Linked DNA regions of Homo sapiens: regions 1, 2, 3, 5 and 6 are each linked to region 4. Evidence: promoter capture Hi-C in 16 types of primary human blood cells and fetal thymus (Javierre and others, 2016). All regions are on one chromosome and are shown on one strand. Each heading gives the region's core, a stretch centred on a gene start or on the middle of the fragment in contact. The rest is flanking DNA. Distances are from core to core; before and after follow the strand shown.

Evidence for each region. The method cuts DNA at HindIII sites, captures the fragments that hold promoters and counts their contacts. A CHiCAGO score of 5 or more calls a contact.
Region 1: a fragment that was not itself captured here is called in contact with the fragment with the promoter of PIK3R1 in region 4 in 4 of 17 cell types (fetal thymus, M0 macrophages, erythroblasts and 1 more); the score reaches 7.7 in fetal thymus.
Region 2: a contact is called between a fragment that was not itself captured here and the fragment with the promoter of PIK3R1 in region 4, in 1 of 17 cell types (M1 macrophages). The highest score is 5.8, in M1 macrophages.
Region 3: a fragment that was not itself captured here is called in contact with the fragment with the promoter of PIK3R1 in region 4 in 1 of 17 cell types (M0 macrophages); the score reaches 5.4 in M0 macrophages.
Region 5: a fragment that was not itself captured here is called in contact with the fragment with the promoter of PIK3R1 in region 4 in 2 of 17 cell types (total CD8 T cells and fetal thymus); the score reaches 6.9 in total CD8 T cells.
Region 6: a contact is called between a fragment that was not itself captured here and the fragment with the promoter of PIK3R1 in region 4, in 1 of 17 cell types (naive CD4 T cells). The highest score is 6.8, in naive CD4 T cells.

The regions. Positions count from the first base shown.
Region 1 is chr5:67,260,022-67,263,064 of GRCh38, reverse strand. No RefSeq gene overlaps it. Among named protein-coding and RNA genes, the nearest start is that of TILRLS, 6.5 kb to the left of the region's middle. The HindIII fragment of the contact is 692 bases long and covers 981-1,672 here.
Region 2 is chr5:67,362,634-67,365,333 of GRCh38, reverse strand. The region is part of intron 1 of LOC124900989 (a long non-coding RNA gene); the gene reads left to right. Among named protein-coding and RNA genes, the nearest start is that of TILRLS, 96 kb to the right of the region's middle. The HindIII fragment of the contact is 1,070 bases long and covers 770-1,839 here.
Region 3 is chr5:67,321,185-67,324,106 of GRCh38, reverse strand. No RefSeq gene overlaps it. Among named protein-coding and RNA genes, the nearest start is that of TILRLS, 55 kb to the right of the region's middle. The HindIII fragment of the contact is 542 bases long and covers 1,393-1,934 here.
Region 4 is chr5:68,214,321-68,217,074 of GRCh38, reverse strand. It overlaps PIK3R1 (phosphoinositide-3-kinase regulatory subunit 1), which reads right to left and starts at 1,319. Exons shown (of 16, transcript NM_181523.3): 1 at 1,126-1,319. RefSeq lists silencers at 603-1,702, 1,923-2,142. The HindIII fragment of the contact is 2,835 bases long and covers 484-2,754 here.
Region 5 is chr5:67,510,012-67,512,812 of GRCh38, reverse strand. No RefSeq gene overlaps it. Among named protein-coding and RNA genes, the nearest start is that of LINC02242, 140 kb to the left of the region's middle. The HindIII fragment of the contact is 6,690 bases long and covers 1-2,801 here.
Region 6 is chr5:67,493,378-67,496,077 of GRCh38, reverse strand. No RefSeq gene overlaps it. Among named protein-coding and RNA genes, the nearest start is that of LINC02242, 150 kb to the left of the region's middle. The HindIII fragment of the contact is 1,194 bases long and covers 742-1,935 here.

The DNA of each region.
Region 1 (3,043 bases), core at 77-2,576, 950 kb after region 4:
AGAAATTGAGCAAGAGAAGAAAAGCAGAGTAAGGAGCCAAGAGTTTAATGGCAAAAGGACATTCATCTGAGGCATAATTAATCCTCCCTTCTTACCTTCAGCCCCAGAGAACTAGAAGTATAACTAAACAAAAGCTTAAGAGGCACCACTTTGGAAAATATTATTTCTTGAAACATGAATGGCGTGACCATGGGTCTGAACAAAGACACCTTTGGGGATAAATAACCCACAGACTGGTTCCTGCCCCTTTCAGGGCATATTTCAGAAGGAATCACATGCACTGTGTTTGTATCACAAACCCTTTGAAGCAAATCAAATTTTTAAATTCTCTCGCTGTTGCTTTAATATGCTATATCTTGCTTATCCATCATGTAGGAAAACATTAAAACTACTTAAAAGTGTTTACAGATGCTATTCCTAGCCTATTTTTCTCCAAAATCAACTAGTTTCCCAGCTGATCAACTGAAACTGTAGAGGATGTGGCACTCTCAGGAATTATACCCTGAAACAGTAATTTCAGGGTAGTTTTATCATCCTCCCAAAGTGATCATTGCATTGCCCTGGCTGTTGGCAACCTGCATGGTGACACTCTTTGACACAGGCGAGAAATAAGAAATATAGTCACGAGTCACTTCATGACAGGGATATGTTCTGAGAAATGCATTGTTACGCAATTTTGTTGTTGTGCAAACATCGTGGAGTATACTTATGCAAACCTAGATGGTATATAGCCTACTACACACCTAGGCTATATGGTACAGCCTATTGCTCCTAGACTGAAAACCCGCACAGCATGTTACTGTACTAAATAGTGTAAGGAAATAGTAACACAATGGTAAGTATTTGTGTGATATAAATTTTTCAGCTCCTTTATAATCTTATGTATAAGCATATGATACACCTATGTATAAGCATTTTGTCATTGATCAAAATGTCATTATGTTGTGTACAACTGCATATACGTTTTATAGTTGAAAGCTTCAGGTTATGTTAGTTAACTCTCCTGGTGTCAAGATATACACAGGTCCACCTGAATCCAGAGCCCACACTTTCAAATAGGTTGATAATAGAAATTTTTTTAATTAGCCACATTAAAAAGGAGAACAAAAACAACTATAGCTGACCCTTGAACAACATGGTTTGAACTGCATGGGCCCACTTACAAGTGGATTGTCTTTCCCCTCTGCCACTCCAGAGACAGCACGCCCAAAACCCTTCCCTTCTTCCTCCTCCTGAGCCCACTCAACAAGATGATGATGATTAAGACCTCTATGATGGCCCACTTTCACTCAGTGAATGGTAAATATATTTTCTCTTCCTTATGATTTTCTTAACATTTTCTTTTCCCTAGCTTACTTTAAGAATGTAGTATATAATACATATAGCATACAAAATATGTGTTAATCAGTTCTTTATGCTATCAGTCAGGCTTCTAGTCAACAGTAGACTATTCATAGCTAAATTTGGAGGGAATCAAAAGTTATACTAGGATTTTCAACTGTGGTTGGGGTCAGCTCTCTTACCCTCTGTGTTGTTCAAGGTCAGCTGTATATCCATATTCGCTCAGGGATAACTTTACAAAATCTCTTCTACAAACATACACTCTACATATATTCACAATTTAACAAAAAAGGAGGATGGAGATCATGCTTCATGTACTGTTGTATAAGCTTTGTATTTTCATTTGAAATACCTTGTGGAGGTCTTTCTACATCAATAAATACATTTCTACCACATCATATTTAATACTGGTTTCCATGGTTATCCCTGTACCATAATGTATGTAAGCAATTCTTGGACATCATGGGTCTTATACAGAGTACTGTGATAAATATTCTAACAGGTACATTCTTACACACACTTTTATCTCTTTAGGATAAATTCCTAGAAACGAAATGTACATTTTTCACATATTGCCAAATTCCCTGGCGAAAGTATATGAATGTTCATTCCCACAGCAATGTATTAAACCCCCCTTTTCTGCACACAATTATCAGCATTGGATATAGGCATTTTATCGTCTTTGCCAATTTGAATGGGGAAATAATAAGATCTCACCGACGCTTTATTTGTCTTCCTTAATTATTACTGGGTGAAACATTTTTCCTATGTTCTTTGGGATTAGTATCACGCCTTTTGTGAAATCCCTACTCATGTCAATAGTTTATTTTTCTTTCAGGGCTTGTTGTATAGTAATTGCTTGCCAAAATAATGTGTCCAGTATATTTCCCCAGATTATTTCATTTTCTTTTAATTTTTAATTGTTTTAATTGCAGATAACTTAAATTTTTGTCTTTCTTCTTTGATTTCTATTGTTGATATCTTTAAAAAGAATCTCTACTTCAAAGTTATAAAAATACTCACCTAAATTTTCTTCTTGTACTTCCAAACTATTTTTTAAATTGAAATGTTTAAATTATGCAGCATTTTTTGATGTAAGATGTAATTTATTAAGCCAAATGTCACAACAATATTTACTATACAATCTGTCAATCCATAACTCATTTAAAATTAGATCTGTATTTTATACTAAAACATTATATATAGTTCTGTTTATATCTAGAATTACTGCTCCATTTCATAGACTTTTGTCCTGATTCCTATGCCACTATTATCTATTTTCATTATTATAGCTTTATAAGCCATATTAATGTCTCAGATGGCAGTTTTCTCTTCATTATTACCAACTGTTTATTCATTTAAATGTATTTAAAAATTATTCTGTTTTCAAAAAAAATTTTTTATGGTTAGAATTTTGTTACACTATTGGTATAATTTCGAAAGAACTGATAACCTTATAATTTGAGTAAATTGTTCCTTCCAGGAAAAGCAAAGTGTGTCTACATATTCGGGTTTTCTTTGTCTTCTCTCAATAATGCATTCGCTTTCTTCATGTCTGCTTTTATGTGAATGGAACCTCCTCCCTGTTATATTTTACAACTGCTTATTGTGAAACTTAGACTTAAACAACTGGAATCCAACTAGTCTTCATTTTTACAAGGTTGATGCCCAGCGATACTACTTTGAAAAGTCCCCCATTTCC
Region 2 (2,700 bases), core at 55-2,554, 850 kb after region 4:
TTGATTCTTGTCCTTCAGAATGGGTTAAACACACACACACACACACACACACACACATTCTGACATTTGGAGGTTCTGAGCCTTGGGTCTCTCCCTTCCTCCCACCTAGCATGTCCTCATAACTATATCTCGAAAAGCTATTCTTAAAGCTTTCCAAGAAGTGTTCTCTCATCTACAGAGTAATGTCTCCTTCCTCTAGTTTTCCACTGTACTTGCTCTAACGGCATTTGAATGAATGAGTGAGTGAATAAATGAATGAATGTGTAATGACGAAAGAAATGGAATATCCTTTGCTTGCCCATCTACAGAAGAGAGATGGAGCCTTCCCTGTTCCTCTTCAGGGTTACTTTTCCTCTGCCACTTTAAGCTCCATCGAAATGCCTCAGGGGCTGCAAGAGTCCAGAGCTCTCCATAAAATAATCTAATAAAAACTGTGAAGAACAAGGCAGCTCAGAAAATGCAACTTCATTTTCATCACCCTGGACTTTGCTTTGCATTGCCTTGGACTCTTGGGTCAGCATAAGGTCTGTAACCTTTAGGGCCTGGAGCCTTTTTGTTTAGGCCAGGTAGCTCAGCTGCCCAGCCTGAGACCAGGTCTCCACTGGCACAGGATGGTGAGGCAGAGGGCAGTGTTCCAGACGATTCAGAAGAGCAGAAACTAAACTTGGCTTTTAAAAAAAGCCCGAGGAAAGCAATTTTGATGCCTGGATAATCACCCCAGTTGCTTAAAAAGCATGCCAGTGGAAACCTGTCCCAGGGGTTCCAAGCTTAGGAAATACAGTGATTGAAGCTCCATCCAGAAGGAGGGTAGCAAGGCAATTAAGCAGAGGAACAAGTGGGACCTTTGCCTGGAGCAACTTCTGTTCCATCAATTGAGGGAATTTACTTGCCCTCAAAGGAAGGTTATTTTAGCACCTGGCATCAGAATTCTCAATATATGAGCTTTGCAGTCTCCTTTGATCTGAAATTACTAGTTCCTGGATTATCAGGCAGTAACCAGGGAAGGGAACATGTTCTCTAGCTGCACTTGGCTCATTGGCTGTGATTAGCTCAGAGAGCTGCAGCCCCCACGTGGTTAACCTACTTCAAGTATAGGTTTACTCATCACAGCTTCCTTCTAAAAACTCAATTGGACAATATTTTGTCACCTTTAAGGTCAGACTATATCTATGCCATAGGTTACCTTCAGCTTCTCCCATCTTTCATCCCCCAGCCCTACAGTGATGTCCTCAGTGATATGGTGCCACCCAAAGAGGCCCAAGGTATTGTTTTGTTGTGTTTTGTTTTAGAAGGAGAAGGACTTTGGGTTTCTAGTTTCAAATCTCAGGGGTGTGACTCAAGTAATTTTACTTCTCAGTTTCCTCCTCTAAAAAACTAAAATTGCAAAACATAATCTCATACATTTGTTGAGGACCAAGTGAAACATTTTATGTCAAGGACCAGAACAGTGACTGGCATATCATAAATGCTCAATAGATAATTGCTCCCTTCCTCACTCTTTCCCCCAAGTAGGCCCTGGAGAGCTCTTCTGGACCAGAGGCTATGGTGGTGCACTCGTGATAGCCGATTGTTAAATCTTCAGGAATTGTGTGATCCAGTTGATCAGTTTGATATTGGCTGTGGTGGAAGCATTCACATCACAGAAATCAGCAAACACAGTAAGTCAGAGCTTCCATCCACTCACCCAGAGATTTGGTTCATCACCATAGCACCACGTAGTTAGATCACCTAGAACCTTTCTAGGTTTGTATTTCTAACAATTTGCATTTCTAAAAATGCAAATTAACCAGTCACACCCCAGACCTTCTGCATGGAAGAAATCTGTGTTTTAACAAAGCTTCTTAGTAAGTGTGCCTGATATGTTCAATGACTAGCAGGGAGATGAGTGTGGGAGGAGTGAAGTGAGCCAGACGAAGAATAGGAAGAGATATGGTCAAAGAAGAGATAGGGTGGTGGTAGGAGCAGGGAGTATCGTTGGCCATTGTAAGAATTTTCACTTATGTTCCAAGTGATAAGGAACCCACTGGAGGGTTTTGAGCAGAACGTAATGTCTTTTAAATCTCATTTAAAGGGATCACTCTGGTTGCTGTGTAAGGGTGATGAGAGACGACAGTGGCTCAGACTCAGATGATACAGAAATACATGGTGAAAAGTGGTTGGATTCCAGATATATTCTAGAGATAGAACTAATATAATGTGTTGATGGTTTAGATGTGGACAGTAATAAAAAGAGAGAAGTAAAGGATAATTCAAAATTTATTTAGTCTGAGAAGCTGGACAGATTTTTACTAAGATACAGAAAAGAAATAGGCTGATGGAAGGTGGAAGGTTGGTGATTAGGAAGTCAGTCCATTTTGAACATATTGGGTTTAGAAAGTCTATTAGAAATCAAGAGGAAATGTCAAGGAGGCCATTAGATATGAGCCTGGAGTTTGGAGGAGAAGTTGGGTTGAAGATTTACCTTTGGAAGTCACCAGCTTCCAGATGGTATTTGGTGACCTGTGATAAGATAGCTCAGTAAAAGAATCAGATAGAGAGAAGTGGATCCTAGCCCTGGAAAGCATGGAGATCTGGAAGATATGGACAAACTAGCAAAGGACACAGAGAAGGAGCAATCAGTGAGTATTAGTTCAATACATATTATGGTAGCAATCAGAGAGATGAAATAATATACTGCAAGTGGCTGTGTTACTTTAGTTG
Region 3 (2,922 bases), core at 414-2,913, 890 kb after region 4:
ACCACCTTTTTTTTGAAGGTGTCAACAATAACAAAACAGAAAAGTAGCTTTAAAAAGTTGCCCTGAAACACTCTGAGCCATTAATGTCATATGCAATATACCAGAGTTTGTTTCTTGACAAAAGGTTAATTAGTTCTCTCCCATAGGATGGCATTGCCATAATTAAACCTATAACAACAAGGAAAAAACACCCCTGGGCAATTTAAGACATTCTGACAATAATGAGACATGGCAACAGGCACTATGTACCAAGGCTATTTTCTAGTTGCTGTTGTTTAATCACCATTGGCACAAGAAAGCAAGTCCTCCCATGCCAGATAATGTCTGTCCCTGAGAGAGACCTATTTTCAAGAGAAGGTAGGTATTTCTGCCTTATACTAGACCTTCCTTTACAATCGCCTGGCAAATGAAAGCAAGAAGCTCCAAATGTGGATGAAACATTGTTTCTGTCAAAAGCAGTACCATATATCATTTCCCCTGGTAATGATATGATTCACAGCATCATATCACTCTTCTGTGACCTAATTATAGTCAAATTCATGCATATTCATATCTAGCCTTGGACAGGGAGGGGTGGCGAGGAACCTCTATGCATTAGGAGACCACCCGCATGGGCAGATTCCCCTAATGAAAGCACTAAACAAGATTTTTAAATTTTTTATTTTTAATTATTATGGATACATAAAAGCTGTACATATTTATGGGGTACATGTGATATTTTGATGCAAGCATATGATGAGTAATGATTAAATCAAGGCAATAGGGGTATTTATCACCACAAGCATTTGTCATTTATTTGTGTTAGGAAGATTCCAATTTCACTCTTTTAGCACTAAGCAAGATTGATGCAAAGGCATCAATGTTCTGAGCATTCATGACATCCACTGCAATGTCTAGAGGGTACATTTTTCTCTCCTCCATTCAGGCATGATGGGTACACAGTTCCCTTGAGGACACTTGGCTCAAAATCCTGGAGAGGGTCTGGGGAAGAAGTATTAGGCAGCCTGGACTCATTGTGATATCCTTAGAAAGGGTTTGAAAGTTCAGGATTCAAAGGAGAAAAGCAATACGTGTGATCACACATATCTCTATCCCATCACCAAAGAAACATAAAAACAGACACATGCCCTTTGAATCCAATATTTTGAAATGAGGAGGAAGGATGTAACCTCCAAAGGTATAAAAAGAAGCAAATGTTGTGTATGTTAGTGGTAATACAGTCCTCCACCTGGTTTACATTGAAGAGTCCATTGGGCTGAGGGTGACCAATGGAGTCCTTGATTCAAACACCACTGTCTTCAAGGCTCAGCTAAACATCTGGGGGCTCATGGCTCAAAGCAACCATAAAAAACAGAACCAGACAAAGACGGCTCCTCAGAATATGTTCAAGCTTCTCATAGTCTTTAGTCTGAGCTCCAGCACTCTCTCTCTGCTAAGCCTTGGCATGACTTTAGAAGGTCACTGGTACTAACAGCTCCTAGGACTATACTTCAAAAGAAACCTGGGTGCTGACTATGCAGGACCAAATAAAGAGTTGTGATTTAACTAAAACTTCATTCCAAGAGAATTTGAATGCCTTTCTTTCCAGAAGCAATTCTGAATCCTCCCTGTCAATTCCCTAGTCTTAACCCTGTTTTCAGAGTAGCACATGAACCAGTGTTTTCCAAACAAATAAAGGACTCTGCTCAAAGGAAGCAAGTATATAAGTGGTTATACTTTCTTCAAAGATCCAGGACATTTGCAGACATAATCAATGGGCTTTGTAATCAGGCATGCTTGGAACATATCTTTAGTGTCACTGGGGGTGCTAATGTTATTCTCATATGGTTCCTTACATATGACACTCAAAAAAGTTCACCTCCTTGGAAATAGTTTATAAGAATATTTATTGAAATGTGATTCAAGGCAAGGTGTCAGAATGCTTCTACAAAGCTTCAGAGTCCTGAGGAAATTAAAATGCAACCTTAGCTAACCTTGGATAATTTACTAGAAATTTCAGTTATTATGCAATCAAGAGCATGAATTACTAAATTCAAGACTCTGTAAGGGATACTACAAACCATCACTGACCTCAAGCAGATTAAAATCTAGGTGAAAAAGCGAGTGTAGGCTAGGCACAGTGGCTTATTCCTGTAATCCCAGCACTCTGGGAGGCCGAGGTGTGCGGATCACTTCAGGCCAGGAGTTCAAGACTAGCCTGGCTAACATCGTGAATCCCCATCTCTACTAAAAATACAAAAATTAGCCAGATGTGGTGGTGCATGCCTGTAGTCCCAGCTACTCAGAAGGCTAAAGCAGGAGAATTGCTTGAACCTGGGAGGCAGAGGTTGCAGTGAGCTGGGATTCCACCACTGCCCTCTAGCCTGGGCAACAGAGTGAGACTCTACGTCAAAAAAAAAAAAAAAAAGTGAGTGTGTTAGTCCATTTTTACACTGCTCTGAAGATACTACCTGAGACAGGGTAATTTATTTTAAAAGGAGGTTTAATTACTCACAGTTCCACGTGGCTGAGGAGGCCTCAGGAAACTTACAATCATGGCAGAAAACAAAGGGGAAGCATGGCACATCTCACATGGCGGCAGGAGAGACAGAGAGCAAAGGGGGACCCGCCAAACACTTTTAAAACCATCATTTCTCATGAGAACTCACTCATTATCATGAGAACAGCATGGGGGAAACCGTCCCCATGATCCAATCACCTCCCACAAGATCTCTGCCCTGACACATGGGGATTAAAATTCGTGGAGATTACAACTTGAGATGAGATTTAGGTGGGGACACAGAGCCAAACCATCTCAGTGACTGTTGCAAAACAGCCTCAGTACAAAGCAGAATGTGATTGATGCCACAGGATACTGTGAATACAAGTCTCAGTCTTGTCCAGACATAGAAAAACAGAAATCAAACAAAACCCAGAGGCTTA
Region 4 (2,754 bases), core at 70-2,569:
TGAAGCCCCCAAATAAAGAGCAGACTCACACTCGGACACCAACAGCGCTGCAGCTCAAGGGATTAACGGTGGAAGTGAGACCTTTCCGATATTAATAGCGCCCCGGGAAACAGAAGAATTCCCCCAAACCCAGTTGACACACATTCTGCATTCAACACGTAACAGCCATTCTGCATATATCCTTGCATTTCAGGCTCCAATTCTGGTTATCAAAGTGTATTTCTGTACAGGAGTGCCTGGCCAGAGGTTTTCTGTTCTCTTTGTCTTGTGATCTGAGGGGCAGTTTCTGAGCTTAGGTTAGAGCTGTGGTTTCCAGAGAATTGCCCACGATATTTTAGCTCCGGGTTGCAGGCTCCCTGGCTCTCCCCAGCCGGCTCCATATTGCTGGGCAGGTCCCTCCCGCCTCGCCCCACGTTCCAAAAGCTGGATTTCCGGGCGGTTCCAAGACCCCACTAAATATGCCTCCAACAACCTGCCCAAGCTTGGCTGGCAATAAACGCTGAGTTAGGGCCCCAGCGACCAACCGCCCCGAGGCGCACTTCCCCCACCCCGGAAGAGGAGGGCGGCAAACTTCGGAAGGCGGGGGTTAGGGGACGAGCTCCGGGGACCACCGCCGCCTCGCCCGCCCCGGGAAGGGCCCGGGCAGCGACCCTGGCTGCAGCTGGAGGGCCACGGGGGAAGGGAGCGCTCCTTCCCGCAACACGAAGGCAGCGGCCAGGGCGCTCTCCTCCGGTGAGGGGCCCCGGAAAACTGCAGCAAGGCGACAGCGGGGACCCTCCGAAGTGTGCGGTGACGGAGGGTGGGAGGAAGCCCGAGCTCGTCGGCAACTCCGGGGGCAAATGCGACCGGCGGCGTGCAGGACCAGCTCGCAGGAGGACGGGGGAAACGGGAGTCAGGATGGCGGGGATCTCACAGGACGCCGGCCGCGCGCGGGGGTAGTGCTGCCCGGCGGCCAGGAGATGCCGGAGGCGGGGAGGGCCGGTGGCCAGCCCGCTTCCCCCCGGCGGGGCTCTGCAGAAGGAGAAGCCGCTGCCAGTGACAGGAAGAGAGTCGCGGCAGCCGTGCACACATGCACCGCCTCCCCCGCCCGAGCACACACACCCGGGGCTGCTGCTGCCTACCTACCCCGCCCGCCGGCTTCCTTCCTCTGCGGGGCCCGCGCTGCAGCGGTGGCCTCCTGCCCGCTCGGTTCCGACCGGCCTCCAGCCCGGCTGCGACCCGCCGGCCGTGCCCGATCCGTGCTTGCCGTCTCCGACAGCTAGCCTGCCGCCCTCGCCGCTGCCGCTGCTTCCTCCAACTCCGCTCCAGCTGCTGGCGACTCCTCTCCGTGCGCCCGCAGCTCCAGCGCCCGGCGCTAGCCCCGCCTCCGGCCCGGCCCCGCGCGCCCCGCCCCCGAGCCCACACCAACCAGAGCCCGCGGCTCCGCCCCTTTCCGTCCGCACGGCTCGGGCCTCCGAGCCGGCGGCTGGCAGTGGGGGAGCGAGCTCAGGCCTGGCGGACCCTTCCTGCCACCGCCCTCGCCTTCCGCCCCCCAGCCGCGGGGATGCCCCGGGCGGCCGTGCCGCGCGCTGCCTCCGCTGCGGAGTGCTCTGGCTCTACACGTCCCGGGCCCGCCCGGCTGCTGGGCGTCTCCCAGCGCAGAGGCGGAGGGGTTCGGGGAGGTCGAAGACAAGTTCAGACCTCCCTGGAGGCTGGCTGCGTCTCTAATCCGAGTGTCTTTCAGCCAACCCCAGGCTTTTTCGAGCCCCTAGCGCCCCAGCAGAGTGGCTGGGGTGGGGAGGACTCGGATTCCAGAGCTCGCCAAAGCGGAGAGGCCCTGCAATTCCTGGTCTCGCCAGCACTGCCTTCCGAGTGGGCGGAAAACCCGCGGCACCCGCCTGGCGCTCCGGGGGTGAAGGAGGGGTGAAAGGGTGAACCGGAGGGACGGGCGCCCGCAGCCTGCCGCTGGCTAACTCCGGCAGCCTGGCACCGCCGCCTCCGGGAGCCAGGCGGACCCGCGAGAAGGGAAGAGAGTTTTCTGAGGGCGTACGCTGGCTGATGGCTTCTAGTCCTGAGATGACAGAGCAAATGGAGGTCACTCAGGCAGACCACGGGCCCCTCGGCGTTCGCGGAGTCGGGGGCGGGGTTGGCGGGGGGTGGGGTTGGCGCGGGCGGGGGGGGCGGGGAAGCGCAGGTGAATTACATTGTCTCTTAAAGGTGTTAGTTTTGAAATGCATATTCTTCAAGTAATAATTACCTAAGTTGCTCCAGAAAAATTTGATGTTGGTTCAAACCTTCCACTGATGGTAAGATGGAATGCCAGCACCACGTGTGCCACTCTTTCATATTAAAACATGTGAGAATCTGCTTCCTAAAAGCTCTTTCCAGATTCTCCTTTCTGCAGCTTAAAGCCCTGCACCCGCCCACCCTGTTTGCCTAAAGCCCTTTTATAGTTCCCTCCCAGTTTCCTTGCAAGAAAACTCTTAAAAACAAACACACAAAACCTAAGCACTTGGCCTCTGTAAAACGTTGAATTTGGTGGTTTATTCTTGTGGACGTTGGAAGTAGAGGGAAGAACGTCCTAAAATTCATCGCTTATCCTTAAAAAATATCATTTTTAAAGGTGACTCACCTAACAGAAAAGTAAGCTCCACTTTAGGCTATTCAGACACTGGTGTTTCTATTATTCCAAGATGTCTCTTGCAGAGGCGACACAAAAACAGGCAGCTACCCACATCATGTTTAAGAATACACTTTATCTGAAAGCAAATAGGA
Region 5 (2,801 bases), core at 295-2,794, 700 kb after region 4:
CAAAGCTGCTAACTATAAAGAAATGATCAAAAGGCAGGAAATGAGAGGGAAATTGTAAAGTAAAAATGGCCTAAAACCTAGGAGATCCATATTTGAAGAGTAATAATATATTTTATTTATATTAGATCCATATGCAACCTATCTAAAGGGATCTTCATTACCGACAAGATGTCACTTCTTTGAAAACTAATGGCTTGACATATTGTCAAGTAGAGTAGATCACTCCAGCTGACTTATAGAGAATGGACAATATGCCGAGACTATCAAACTTTGTCACCCACAGTAAATGCTCTCACATCAAAATTCGGTAGGCATACATAGAAATAGAACTTAAAAAAATAGTTTCACAAAAGAGCATGTAATTTTACTATATAGAATGCACTGACATTTTCTAATCTATTTTATTGTTTAAAATTCTGGCTTTGGCCTACTAAATTGATTTCACAACCCTCTGATTTTAGAATCTTGACATCACATTTTGATTTTCTCCTGTTCCCCCTATACATCCAGACTTTGATAAGAAGAAAGACTGGAGTCAAGAAGATCAGACAGGAGGTTGTTGTAATTCAAGCAATAAGAGATATGAATTTCAGCTAAGGCAACATTATGAAAAGGATCTGGTAACTTTTACCTTATTATTAAAGCTCTATTTAATCCGCTTGCTATAACCTAGTTAAATAAACTTGGCAGCATTAGTGCACTTCTCAGATCATCATCTGAGTGCCTGCCAGGTTTCACACTGTGCAAAGAGCTTTACACATATGTTAATTCTAATTCTTACTGCAGCACTGGAAGGTAGATATCATTATCTCCATTTTACAGATAGAAACACCAAATCAAAGCTCAGGGAAATTAAGCAGATTTGCCAAGGTCACACAGATAGAAATTAGCAGGTAAGTGCATAGCCAGTCTATTTAGCCCTAGCTAGTTCCTATTAACTACTGCACAATAGTCTATTGAATGAATCTACAACAATATCTGTTGATGATTATTTAATGGAATTTCTGGATCCTAAGGTAGAGTTATGTTATAGGTATGTGTTTTATCATATTACAGAAGTATCCATCAATTCATTTTACTGATTGTTCTTGACACCAATGTCCTTTGATGTTGCCTTTTCTGCATCTGTGGAAATAATCAAAATGATTTTGTAGTGTTGCTTTATTAACAGGATGAACTCTTGATGTTTTTTCTAATATGAAACCCACTTGTTCATACTTCTTTTTAAATGTACCAATGGAGTCTGTTCATTAGTATTTAGTTTTATTTAAGACTATTGTATCCAAAATTCATATGACTAGTCTGTTGTTTCTTTTCTGGTATAGCATGGTCAGCTTTGGAGATCAATGTAATACCTACTTCATAAAAATAAATTCTAATTTTTTTCTCTTTCATGATTTGAAATAATTTAAGTAGCATTATAATTATGTTATTATTAAAGACTTGGTTGAATTCTTCCATGAAACAATCTGGAGATCTTCTCTTTATGGGGGTGTATTCAGTTACTTTCTCTATTTAAGATCATTTGTCTGTGTAGACTGTCTCCACTGGGGTCAATTTTAGTCACCTGCATTTTTTTCTAAAAACTCATCTACTTAGTTTACATTTTCAAAGTTATTTCCATAGAGCTATTGTAAGTAGTTGCTTTAAGTTATTTTAATTTTTTCTGTGTCCATGATTATTTCTCTTTTGTCCTAATTGTGTTATATTTACCATTTCTCCCTCATTTTTTAAAATTAGGTTGGTTAGTAGCTTATCTATTTTATTGTTTTATTTTTCAAAAACCCAGCTTTTAGTTTTATAGTATTTCTGTCTTCTGACTTGTTGATTTTTGCATTTATTTTATTATTTTTTTCTTTTTTAATAAACTTTATTTTTAGAGAAAATTTAAGTTTATAGAAAATTTAAAGAGAAGAGTCCTCATATAACCCTTCTCTCACACACAATCTCTCCTGTGATTAATATCTTGCATTCATGTGGTTCATTTGTTGAAACTAATGAACCAATATTGCTACATTATTATTAATGAATATCCATAGTTGACATCAAGGGTTCACTCTTTGTGTTGTGCAGTTACATAGGTTTGTCAAATGTTAGTGTCATGTATCCACCATTACAGCAACATACAGAATAATTTTTGCTGCCCTAAAAATTGTCTGTACTTTACCTATTCATCCCTCTACCTACCTACCAACCCCTGGCAACCACTTAATCTTTTTTTCCTGTCTCTATAGTTTTACCTTTTCCAGAACATAATATAGTTGGAATCATATAATATAGTATAGCCTTTTCAGATTGGCTTCTCTCACTTAACAACATGTATTAAAGTTTCCTCCATGTCTCTTTATGGCTTGATAGCTCATTTTTTTTAAGAGATGAGTAATATCCTGTTGTGTGGATTTAACACAGTTCCTTTATTTACTCCCCTATTGAGAGACACCTTAGTTGCTTCCAATTTTTAGCCATTATGAGTAACAATGCCATAAACATCTGTGCAGGTTTTTGTATGGACATAAGTTTTAAACTAAATTGGATCAATACTTCAAAGTCCAATTGCTGGATTGTATGGCAAGACTGTTTGGCTTTGTAAGAAACTGCCAAACTGCCTTCTAAAGTGACTATACCATTTTGCATTCCCTCCAGCAACGAATGAGAGTTCCCACTGTTTCACATCCTTGCCAGTGGTTTGGTCTTGTCAGTATTTTGAATTTTACCCATTCTAGTATGTGGGTAGTGGTATCTCATTGTTTTAATTTGCAATAATCTAGTGACATGTAATGTTGGGCATCTTTCCATATGCT
Region 6 (2,700 bases), core at 89-2,588, 720 kb after region 4:
GTGGGAGACATGAGACAGAACAAAGAAGTCAGGTGGCTTTTGCCTGGCTGCCCACCATGGTCTCTGAGAAGGTGCTACCTCTCAGGCTGCCAGGTACCCCTAAGCCAGATAAGGCATCCCAGTGGGGTCAAGAGAGGCCCTGAGCTTGGCTCTTCAGCTGGTCTCAACCCCCAGTAGCCTGCATGCTGAGTTGGGAGAGAATGGGCCTGCTGGGGACCCTACTAGGGACAGGCAAGGTGCTCTTGCAAAGGCAGGGGGTACTGAGGCCAGAGGGTGAAGCTCCACAGCTAGGGAGCATGATGGGAGGCCAAAGCAACAAGAAGGTGGTGGAGGCTCCGCGAAACATTCAAAGCCAAAAGAAGAGGCCACATACTTCTTTGCTGCAGAATATGGAGCCAGTGAGGCCAGGACCACCCGGGGGTCAAGGCACAGTGCCTAGGAGACCTGCTGCTACTACCAGTCACTATGCATAAGGGTAAGCCAGAAGCTAGGAGCCTATTTCCTCCCAAGGCCTCACACAACCAGAGGCCACTGAAAAGAGAGCAATGAGGGAGGAGGAGGCTTTGGAAAGACTGAGCATTTTTATTCAAAAGAGACTTTATACTATGTGAAGGGAGTTTTTAAATGATTGGAATTAAGAGTAAAACATTAAATTGGATTGGACATTGGGTTAATTTTTGTTTTCCTGCTGAACAACCAGTAATGGCACGGAAAATGCCAGCTAAATCACAAACAAAAGCTTTCTCTGCAAAATCAAGTGGAGATGCCACTGACATGCTCTCCTGGTCACACTGTTGGATCCATGCCACTTGCTCTTGTTCTACTCATGGCCATGATCTCTGTGGACCTCAGGAAAACTTCTGTCTGAGAAGTTCTGGTCCCTGGCCTGTTTCTGGACTTTCAGGGGCATGTTAGAGAAGCAGCTCTAAGCAGGGTGATAACCCAAAGAATCCACTGCTACCATCAAAACGCATATTCTTCTTAGCCCACTCCCTGGAGAAGTTCGGGTACAGAAAAGACACTTCTAAAATGCACATTATCAACAAGTAATGAGCTGCACCGTTTAAAACAGCGTGTGAATAAAAACCCACTCCCTGCCTGCTACTTTACCTTTCCCAGCCTGTTTCCACTTTTTCTTGGTTAGGGTTTGGGTCTTGGCTACACTAAGATGTTCCTTTTTCTTTTTCCTTTTTCTTCTCAAACCACAGTAACTCACACAGGAGCCAAACCCCTTAACTAAAGAATAATTTATGACAGAGAAGCTAGCATTTTAAACAAAATAGTTTTGGGGAAAGGGGAAGAAAGCCAGGAGGTCAGAAGTTGATTTCTAAGGACAGCATGCTGGCCGCCTCCTCCTCAGGGCCGGCCTGCTGGGATTATCACATTACGGGAAGGGTCCGTGCCAGGGCCAGGAACCATGCCACCCGGCTCCTATTGATCCCCTCAAAGGACTCAGCAAAGCCTGCAGAGCTGCAGAGCAGTGTGGCTCTGAGCTCTAAAGACACTGGCCCTGCTGAAGGGCTTATTTTTCACCAGTCGGAGAGATATTGAAATGTAAGAGGTTCGGTTGCCTCAGTGAAGAGAGGCCATGTTGCTTGGATAAGTGATCCTTAAGCACATCATGTGGTGTAAGCGAAGGTAACAGGCCCCGCCAACAAAGGCTGTAAGTGGTGCTTGGCAAGACAAGGCCCAACCAGCACAATACAAAAAGATGATTCATTACAGACACTGTGCACACATGCTTGGCATCTCAAATCACACGCAGGAGCTGCAGATCATGGCGTCGAGTTCCACTCCCAGGTTGCCCCGTCAGCTAGTCAGGTTCGAGGGCAAGCTGCCTGACCCAGGTGTAAATAATGCAGAGCTGGCATGCCACCTCTGACAGTGGGACCAGCAAAGCAGCTGGAGAGAACTGATGCCACCAGAGGCAAAGCTTGTGCCAGAACTGGTGAAAACTGTTTCCCCTTTTTCTACTATAGGGAAAGTTTAAGATTTGTTGTAGGAAATGAGACAATTAAGTAAAAATCCCCCGGAAGATCAAAGGAAAGTGTAGGAACACATATGTCCAGGCACTGCCTTGGCCACGAGTGGTTGGTATAGATGGACATAGCTGCTGCCCTGCTGTGGTAGAAAACCTGTGTCCCAGTGATGGCTCTTCCTCCTCCTGCCTTTCTGGGATCACCAATCAGAGAAGACTGTTCATGGCAATATGACAGTGCCACCAGCTGGTGCTGCCTGCAAGGACTCTTTTGCTGTGCTGACTACAGAATCCTGTGTGCCTATGGTAAGCCTAGGATCTGTGAGGTTAGGGAGCTGCTGTCCTCAACAAATGGTTCTCTTTGGGGATTAACTGGGTTGGCAAAGAGTGAGCAAGCTCAAGAAAACTTCTGTGGTATGGTAAAACGTGGCTTTCTTGGCAAGGCTACGCTGTATATGTGTCAACTACAGAAGTGCTACTCCAGTCAATCCAACAAATACTTCCAGCAGCAATTCCCAAATGGTTTATTAAGAGTACGTATTTTTCATTTCAAGGGAGAACCTTATCTTAGAATGCCATGAGGTATACCAGTAATCATATGAAGTTTCCTATATTACATATGCTATTTATTATGACTATAACCGTGTAACATTTAATAACTTCTCCCCAGATAAGAAATTAATTTAATCTACTGCTTTTCTATTTAACGTCTTTGCAGTTTC